Linked DNA regions of Homo sapiens: region 1 is linked to region 2. Evidence: promoter capture Hi-C in 16 types of primary human blood cells and fetal thymus (Javierre and others, 2016). All regions are on one chromosome and are shown on one strand. The core of a region is centred on a gene start or on the middle of the fragment in contact, and the rest is flanking DNA. Distances in the headings are between cores, read along the strand shown.

What was found. The method cuts DNA at HindIII sites, captures the fragments that hold promoters and counts their contacts. A CHiCAGO score of 5 or more calls a contact.
Region 1: a fragment that was not itself captured here is called in contact with the fragment with the promoter of POU5F1B in region 2 in 1 of 17 cell types (M0 macrophages); the score reaches 8.1 in M0 macrophages.

What each region holds. Positions count from the first base shown.
Region 1 is chr8:129,685,515-129,690,536 of GRCh38, forward strand. No RefSeq gene overlaps it. Among named protein-coding and RNA genes, the nearest start is that of CCDC26, 7.8 kb to the left of the region's middle. RefSeq lists an enhancer at 2,846-5,022 and a cis regulatory region at 3,846-4,180. The HindIII fragment of the contact is 1,486 bases long and covers 2,725-4,210 here.
Region 2 is chr8:127,412,955-127,418,003 of GRCh38, forward strand. POU5F1B (POU class 5 homeobox 1B) reads left to right here and starts at 2,913. Exons shown (of 1, transcript NM_001159542.3): 1 at 2,913-3,992. The coding sequence starts at 2,913. The coding sequence ends at 3,992. All of the region lies in intron 5 of CASC8 (cancer susceptibility 8), which reads right to left. The HindIII fragment of the contact is 3,513 bases long and covers 1-3,020 here.

The DNA.
Region 1 (5,022 bases), core at 2,218-4,717, 2.3 Mb after region 2:
CAACTTTGAGGGTTTCTTTGCATGTTCCTTACCTAACAAGACCAGCCTGAAAAGAGTAGAAAAAAACATAAAGAAACTTGGAGTCTGAATTTTCCACATGCTGGGAGCTCTCACACCCAATTCCAGATACAGCACTCTCCTGAATGTGACCTGAAGTGGTTTCCTCAATTGATCACATCCCAGGAATCTGGAGAGCTTCCAGGGCAGGGAAAATTAGTTACAGAGTCACAGAGTGGTGCGGCCTGTCACATGAAAGTCACTTCCAGCTTGGAACGGATTGCACATTCCTGCCTTCTGAGTGGTGTTTCAGATGACTGGGATCTGGCCTGTCTGCAGACAGGCCCCAAAGCAGCAGAAGGAAGCCAGCGGGCAGGGGCATTCCAACACCGTTCCCGAGACCCGCAGTCACAGGAAAGGAGAACTTCCTGAGGCTCCTCCAAGCCTTGCCTCAACTTAATGGTGTTTGAGAAAAACATCAAGTTTCCATTTACCTCCATTTTGAAACACTGAAAGCATTTGTCATTAAATAGCATGATGACTCTCCTGCCTCAACTCAGAGCTTTGTCAAACTGCTCACATGGCATAAACAAGGATGATGGGGTTTCCTACACATATATCAGAACTTCTAAATGCTTCTTATATGCCAAGTACCATTATATACCATGCCTTGGCTCATCTAATCCTTACAGACAACCTCAGGAGAGAGGTGCTCTATATCACTACCACAGCCAAGGAACCTGGGGCTCAGGATGGTTAAGTAACTTGTACAAGGTCAAAAATTGGCAAATGACAATGCACGAACTTAACACAGATCTGTCTGACTCCAAATCCCAGGTCTACACTGGCTGGATAAATATGAGGCAGAGGCCACATGTAGTAGCTCACGCCTGTAATCCCAGCACCTTGGAAGGCCGAGGCGAGTGGCTAACCTGAGGTCAGGAGTTCAAGACTAGCTTGGCCAACATGGTGAAACCCCGTCTCTACTAAAAATACAAAAACTAGCTGAACGTGGTGGTGCATGCCTGTAATCCCAGCTACTTGGGAGACTGAGACAGGAGAATTGCTTGAACCCGGGAGGCGGAGGTTGCAGTGAGCCAAGATCGCACCATTGCACTCCAGCCTGGGCGACAAAAGCGAAACTCCATCTCAGTAAAAAAATAGGTATATATGAGGCAGAATGACTTTCAAATAATACACAATGGTTTCAGAATCTGGCCTCTGTTTTGTTGATTGCAAGGCCCTGTCATATTTCCAAGTCACCTATTGCTGGGTTTCACAGCTTTAATGGTTTGAAAAGTCTTCCTTATGTCAAAATGTTTCAACAGGCTTCGTTCCCGCCCTCTGCACCCCACAGTCCTCTTCCTTCCCAAACTCTCCTCTGAGAAGTCTGTCTCATCCCCCATTCCCATGAAATACATCTGCTGACATCACAAAGGGATTCTTGTCTAACTTCCATCTCTCTAATTGAAGTTTAAGCAAAATGTTTCTTGACCTAATCCAAGTAAAAGAGCATGATTGTCCTCTATTTCATGTTATTCTCACAGTTACAATATGTGCTTACATCTGCTGGTGCAAAATATGATTAACTTTTTTTTTCTAAAACCCTAGGGCTAGGAGGAGCTTGGAAATTCTATCTTTTACTTCCCCTTGCCTTCAGACCGATCCCTGTATGTCAACAAAACATGAAAACACCCTGTGAAATCCATTAGTAGCCTCACTTTATATACTAGGAAATCGAGGCAGGGTGATGGATCTGAAGTCCCTCAAGCAGATTGTGGCTAGAGCAAGAAGGGAAGCATGGACCTGGGTCTCTCAGAGGAATCCCTGTCTTCCCATACAGCCTTTTTCCATAGCATCTATGCACTAACTATAAGCTATCGACCCTATAAAGGTCCACGGACATATGAGAACATTATCTTCTTCCAGGCATTCAGTTTCATTTATCCGACATTTCCTGCACTATCCTAAAGATATAGAGGCAGGTAGATTAATTCACTATGCCCTAGAAGTCCTGGTCAAGGTCTCAGAATCAAGAACTACCTCTCTAACAGACAGGCATTGAGCACCCTCTGTAGGCAAGGCAGAGTCTTGCAAGCTGGCACCAATGATTGTCCTGCATCTGCCTGGTCCACATACTCCCTGGACGTCTGTGTGACAGGCTCTGTAGAAGACAAGCATAAAGCAGACCTGAGGGTGAGTCCCAGCCCAGCTCTGCCACTCACCAGCGGTGTGGCCATGGGCAGGTTACCTCCATGGACTAGACCTGGGCTTTCTCATCTTTAAGTTGGTGTTAATAACAAGTTGGGGTTAAATGCTGTCCCTCACTCAATACCTGTGTCCACATCTTAATCCTTAGGACCTCTGAACGTGACCATATTTGATAAAAAGGTCTTGGCAGATGTAATTATGTAAAGGTTCTTGAGATGAGATCATCCTATATTATCTAGGTTGTCTCTAAATCCAGTGACAAATGTCCTTATGACCGCAGAAAGACAGACACCAGGAGAAGAAGAAAAGTCCACGCAAAGAAAGATGAAGGTAGAGGTAGGAGTTATCCAGCCACAAGCCACAGAATGCCTGGAACCTCCCTAAGCTGAAAGAGGCTAAGACAAAGTCCCCTCTAGAGCCATCAGAGTGAGTGTGGCCCTGCCAGCACCTTGAGTTTGTACTCTGGCCTCCAGGACTCTAAGCAAAAAAATTTCTGGGGGATTTTTTAAGCCATGAAGCTTTGTGGTCATTTGTTAAAACAGCCCTAGGAAACTAGTATCCACCTATTTCATGGTATGTTAAGCATGGAACCTATTCCAGAGTAAGTACTTCATCATATTATTGGTGTTATTCTTGCCCTTGCCATGCTCCAAGTTAACTTAAGACCCCTTTTATTCTGACGATACCTCCTGGAGACCACCCACCCATCCAAAGCTCCAGAATCAAGGTTTTAGTATTTTGATTTGGGGTTGCCTATTTGTTAGGAGGAGGGGCTGCACATACCTATTTCCTATTTTTCAAAATAATAGCCCCAAATTTTGATTCAAGTGAAGCTGGATAGACCCTGAAGGGTGTATTTGTTAAAAATTTCACAGCTCATTCTGACACAAAACTGGTACTGATATTCAACCAATGCACACTGACCAGCATCCTCTCTGATTTGTCTGGGACTTGGTCCTTTGGTGAAATATTTGCCCTCTCTCCGCACACCAGCACTGCTCTCCCATCACCACTGACCTGGGGAAAATCAGCCAAGCTGACTGGTAGGCCCAGAACACAAAGCTGGGGACAAAGCTAGTCCAGAGGGCTTAAAATGTGTTGGGGAAGCCAGGTTTGCATGAACATGTCCCGGGGAACAGAACAGGCATGGCAGCATGGAATGACAGGAAGGACCTGGGCACAGGCCCCTGGTGGCCCAAACTCCTCCATACAGGACTGTTCTTTTTATCTGTTGTATCAACTGGGAATATGCATACAATTCTTTTTGGAAAAAAAAGTTCTAAAGCATTCTGATGATTTTTTAAATAATTAAAAATTTAAAACCACTGATAAGACATACTTATTTTCTAGGCAAGAAACTGGGTTCCAAAGAGATTAAGTGACATGCCCAGGATCACACAGTGAGGAACTGATGGCCAAGACCAGAATCTTGAACTCTGGGTCTTATCCAGGGCCCGTCAACTCCACCAGTAGCAGCCTCAGCCACCAGCCCCACCACTGAGGCCTCAAAGCACTGATTTCTCAGGCTCCAGTGCCTCTCTCTAGGTGCAGTAGCCCCCACATCCCTCAGAAGGTCCATGCCTGGCAGGGAAGAGGATGCCTGGGCAATGCTGTCAGCCTCTCCTTTGGGAATGGCCTTGGTCTCGGTCTGCACCAAGGCAGCCCAGTTTCTAGGCCATTGCTGCCAGAGGCGGTGTCGTTGCTTGGGAAATCTTCCTGCTGATCAGAACTTCCTCTCCACTGTACCTTTTTCCCTCCTTAGAGCCAACATCCAGGCCTTATCTCAGATGAGGAAATGTTTAGGGCACAGGACCGTTGAGATATTTCTCAGAACACAAATTACGAGGCACATGTTTTCACAGAGAAGAAAATAAGGAGAAGACACACAGTGATCACCATGCTGGTTCTGAGAACAAGCCCTTATCTGCTCTGACCCAGCTCTGGACTCACAGGCTGGTGTCAGCCTCACAACTGGTCAATGAGGCAGCCAGGAAAAGTCCAAAGCTTTAGGTGGGGGAGTCCATCGCCCAAAGGCAAAGGTGCAAAAAATAAACACTTAAGAGAGAGCTGCAGCCTCAAAGCCCTGGGCTGTACCAGGCCGACATACCACAGCAAAAAGCCTATGAAGTCCTACAAAATGTAAGCACCTCACCAAGCTGCTAGCATGGAGGGATTGCACATTAAAACTCTGGTCACGTTACAAATGTCTGTGCAGGGTCTTCCCGCCAGGAAACCCCAATGCAGTGAGGAGGATACTATGCATGTTTAAAAAACTAAGCAGTCATAAGATTACAGTAATCATTCCAAGCAGGACAAAAAGAAAGAAAAGATGAGGTGATACAAAGTACTACATGGTCAATGAATGACCAGATAAATGATGGAATCAATAATTACTAGAAGAGTTCAGAGGGAAAAGTTCAGGTAGGAAGGACTAGCTTGGCTTAATAATATCTATCATTCATTAAATACCTACTATCTGCCAGAATTTGAGAATTTTTCTTTCAATGACTTCACAAGGTCTGTGTTAAGTATCTGCACTTCACCAAGGGGAAGGCTGAAATGTGGAGAAGCCAGGTGACCTCCCACAGTAACTCAGCTGTAGGAACCAGGGTGAGTTCTGTCTCGTTCTCCTGAACAATTACCTGAGTTTCCTTAGCCATAGAGGTCCTGAGAAATTGCTTGAGTTTCCTTAGCAATAGAGGACAAGGAGAGCTTGGATAAAGCCAAAAGGAAAGAGAGGGATCATTGCAGGCAGGTGAAAGGAGCAGCTGAAATCACAGAGGCAGGAAAGTCAAAAGCACATGTGCGGCTGTT
Region 2 (5,049 bases), core at 1,663-4,162:
AAGAAACCAGTCTTTATGCCACTTGGAATGGATTTTTCCAATTGTCCTGCCCCCACTGAAAAAAACTCTTCGTTCAGAAGAAATAATGACCAATGACGTAAGAAGGACTAATGTTTCCACCTGCCTCTCAATTTAATAGCAAGAGATTCCACATGTCAGACAGGAAAGAAGGCTAGGAAGGAAAATGAGCATTAAGATTAATAATTGATGTTAATACTGACAACAAAGACAAACAATGGTGATAAATGAAATGGCAGAACCAAGGAAATTGTTCTACTGTGATATCTTTCTTTCAAGCAGGTCAACTGTATAATTACCAAACTCAATTTCATCAGGAATTTCATCAACATCAGAGCCCCTGGGCCACCAGTCTTCAATGTTTGCTACCAGTGTGTTACTGTCTGCTTGTCATTATCTAGAGACAAAAATGGAACATTACAATGGGCTTTATGACCCTTCTGTACCTCAGCATTTCCATCCTGCCCCCTTCACCTAGCTGTACCTCATTATCTATCCCAGTGCCTGGCCTGTGATATCCCTAGAAATTATTATTGCACTAAACTAAATTAAACACAAAGACTTAGTTAGCGGATTCACAATTTTTAGTTGTACTACATAGTCAAACGAGTAGACGTTCAGGTCACAAAATCTAGCCTGTCTCCCCATGAAACCACAATGCCATTGTCTGAACAGATTAAATAAAGCAGAGCATCACCTCAAACGATTTTCATGGTTCAAATCTAGGTAGCTATACTTACCAGCTGTGAGGCTTAGGCCAACCTATTAACCTTCTATTTCACTTTTCTGCTAAATGAGACAATATGGACTTGACTTCATTTTGTGAGAAATAAATAATCTAAGTAACTGGTCAAACACATTTTGTGCTTCTTAAAAAAAGGTGGTACACACACACACACACACACACAACACCCGATATAATACAATATTTTCAAATGACACTAGAAATATTTTAGTCAGGTCTAAAGGAACAGAAGTTAATGATAAAATGATAAACAATAAATAATAGCTACTGTTTCATGAGAAAATTACACACATCTTACTTGACTTAAACCTCACAACAGAATTGAGCAGAAAGTTATTACCCTGAGAAAGGGGACTTAAGGTTGGCAGGATAACAAGTGGGAGAATCTAGAGGTAAAGTCATATCTATCTTATTGGAAACACTCAAGAACGTCAAATAAGCATGAGAATTTGAGCAAGACTGAAGGAGAACGTTTAAGTTCCCTTTCCAACTCATATCCCAATTCTGGAATCTAATTTCTGTAACAAGTAACTATATTCCTTACTACAGAAGTAAAGATGGCCCCATGGAGAAACTGGCAGCATGGCATGATGGAAATGGAATAGAATCAGGAATTGTTTTGTACCTGTGTGTGTGTGACTTTGGTGTTCTGACTCAGACACATATTTGAGAGGTAGAGAGGGGAGAAGAGGGTTGCCACATTATGTAACAGAAAGGAGCCCACTGCTTAAACACTTACCTTGTGCCAGACATTGCACTAGGACTTTATTACCTGCAACCCATCCTGCAAAACTGTGAAGATTTGATATGATCATTCTCATTTTATGGTTGAGAAACAAGGGTTAAGGACATTAAAAATTTACTCAATGTTTAAACATTTGCCTGTCTTATTCTAAAGCCCCTTCTCTTTTCACAATCCCTTTAAGAAATGGACATCCAATATTTGAGTGGCAGAGGCAAAAACATGGCCTACCAGAACCATTATGATAGCTTTACAATATGCCCACCAATTATTTGATAGTCCTCCTGCCAAATGGTGAAGGCTAATTACCCTCCTACAGAATGTGACTCACTTCTAATGAATAAAATATGGCACAAGTAAAAGTGTGCGATTTCAGAGACTAGGTCATAAAGAACGCAGTGGCTTCTTCCCTGCTCTCTCTTTCTTAGGTCATTCTCTCTGGGTGAATCCAGCTGACATGTTGTGAGGACACTCAAGCAGCTTTATGGAAAAGCCCACATGGTGAGCAACTGAGGCCTCCTACCAACAGCCAACAAGAAACCGGGGCCTTTGCCAACAGCCAAGTAAGTGAGACATTTTGGAAAGTGGATCCTCCAGCCCCCGTTAGGCTCCCAGATGACAACATCCCCTGCTCTCATCTTGACCACAACCTCATGAAATACCCTTATCCAGGATACCCAGTTAAGCCACACCACAATTGCTATTTTACAAAACTGTGAGCTATGTGTTAGTTGTTTTTAAGCTATTAAGTTTTGAGGTGATCTATTACACAATGATAAACAACTAATACACCCATCCAGTGCTGAAGAAAGGGGTTGTCAGGAGGGTAGAATTTGCACTATTAAATCTTCATAGAGTGCTATTTCCCGTCACTACAGCACACTTGTCACCAACTATAAAGAATTAGGTCAGGGAATTTCTTTGGTTGCAGCCCATTTTGCCTTTGGTTGTTAATGGTAGAACCGTTTCCCCACAATCTGCAGGAAATAAGAATCAGAAAGAAGGACACACCATTCCATAGCACAGAACACAAGTAGATGGCTCCCATGAAGAATCTAGCATCATGGTATGGCAGAAGCAGAATGGACTCAGGAATCATGGTGCCTACACTGGAATTTCAGATCGGCCACTGACACAATGGACACATTATTCAACATTTCCAAATCTTGGCATTCTTATCCACAAAGTGAAGATAATAATTGTCAATTCACAGGTGATTATGATTTAAAGAGATTACTTTTGAAGAGTTCCTAACACATTCAGTCAACATTTAATGATGCTTCAGGCACTGTGTTCATTGCTAGTGAGCGTATGACACACACAGCCATACGGTCACAGAGCTTTCAATGAAAAGTAACATAATTGCTCATTTCACCAGGCCCCCGGCTTGGGGCGCCTTCCTTCCCCATGGCGGGACACCTGGCTTCGGATTTCGCCTTCTCGCCCCCTCCAGGCGGTGGGGGTGATGGGCCATGGGGGGCGGAGCCGGGCTGGGTTGATCCTCTGACCTGGCTAAGCTTCCAAGGCCCTCCTGGAGGGCCAGGAATCGGGCCGGGGGTTGGGCCAGGCTCTGAGGTGTGGGGGATTCCCCCTTGCCCCCCGCCGTATGAGTTATGTGGGGGGATGGCGTACTGTGGGCCTCAGGTTGGAGTGGGGCTAGTGCCCCAAGGCGGCTTGGAGACCTCTCAGCCTGAGAGCGAAGCAGGAGTCGGGGTGGAGAGCAACTCCAATGGGGCCTCCCCGGAACCCTGCACCGTCCCCCCTGGTGCCGTGAAGCTGGAGAAGGAGAAGCTAGAGCAAAACCCGGAGAAGTCCCAGGACATCAAAGCTCTGCAGAAAGAACTCGAGCAATTTGCCAAGCTCCTGAAGCAGAAGAGGATCACCCTGGGATATACACAGGCCGATGTGGGGCTCATCCTGGGGGTTCTATTTGGGAAGGTGTTCAGCCAAAAGACCATCTGCCGCTTTGAGGCTCTGCAGCTTAGCTTCAAGAACATGTGTAAGCTGCGGCCCTTGCTGCAGAAGTGGGTGGAGGAAGCTGACAACAATGAAAATCTTCAGGAGATATGCAAAGCAGAAACCCTCATGCAGGCCCGAAAGAGAAAGCGAACCAGTATCGAGAACCGAGTGAGAGGCAACCTGGAGAATTTGTTCCTGCAGTGCCCGAAACCCACACTGCAGATCAGCCACATCGCCCAGCAGCTTGGGCTCGAGAAGGATGTGGTCCGAGTGTGGTTCTGTAACCGGCGCCAGAAGGGCAAGCGATCAAGCAGCGACTATGCACAACGAGAGGATTTTGAGGCTGCTGGGTCTCCTTTCTCAGGGGGACCAGTGTCCTTTCCTCCGGCCCCAGGGCCCCATTTTGGTACCCCAGGCTATGGGAGCCCTCACTTCACTGCACTGTACTCCTCAGTCCCTTTCCCTGAGGGGGAAGTCTTTCCCCCAGTCTCCGTCATCACTCTGGGCTCTCCCATGCATTCAAACTGAGGTGCCTGCCCTTCTAGGAATGGGGAACAGGGGAGGGGAGGAGCTAGGGAAAGAGAACCTGGAGTTTGTGGCAGGGCTTTTGGGATTAAGTTCTTCATTCACTAAGGAAGGAATTGGGAACACTAAGGGTGGGGGCAGGGGAGTTTGGGGCAACTGGTTGGAGGGAAGGTGAAGTTCAATGATGCTCTTGATTTTAATCCCACATCATGTATCACTTTTTTCTTAAATAAAGAAGCCTGGGACACAGTAAAAAAAAAAAAAAAAGAAAGAAAAGAAAAGTAACATAATTGAGTAATAATTTTTTAAGTGTGGTAAAATGTGTGGCACGTAGTAGGTATTCAATAAATACTTGCTTTTTTCCTCCTTTTTACCTTTTCCTAGAGTGCTACTTGATGGTAGCTGTAGTTTTTCTTCAAGACATCCTATTTGTCCTGATACAAAACCTCTTTTGACCGCTAACGGCATAGTTCGGCCCTCACCATTCCCTCACATATTCCACAAAAATGTGAGCATTAACCATTCCCCATGATACAGATAATTCATTTTTTAATTTAATTTTTTAAAATTTTATTTATTTACTTATTTATTTTGAGACCAGGTTATGAGACTGGCTAATTTTTGTATTTTTGGTGGAGATGGGGTTTTGCCATATTGTCTAGGCTGGTCTCAAACTCCTGAGCTCAAGGGATCCTCCTGCCTGGGCCTCCCAAAGTACTGGGATTACAGGCATGAGCCATTGCACCTGGCCCGGATAATTTTTTTTCTTTTTTTGAGGTAGTGCCTTCCTTTATAGCTCAGGCTGGAGTGCAGTGGTGTGATCTCGGCTCACTGCAACCTCTGCCTCCCAGGTTCAAGTAATTCTCCTGCCTCAACCTCCTGAGTAGCTGGGATTACAGGCGCCCACTACCACGCCCGGCTAATTTTTGTATTTTTAGTAGAGATGGGGTTTCACCATGTTGGCCAGGCTGGTCTCGAACTCTTGACCTCAGGTGATCTGCCTGCCTTGGCCTCCCAAAGTATTGGGATTGTAGGCGTGAACCACCACGCCCGGCCCTGA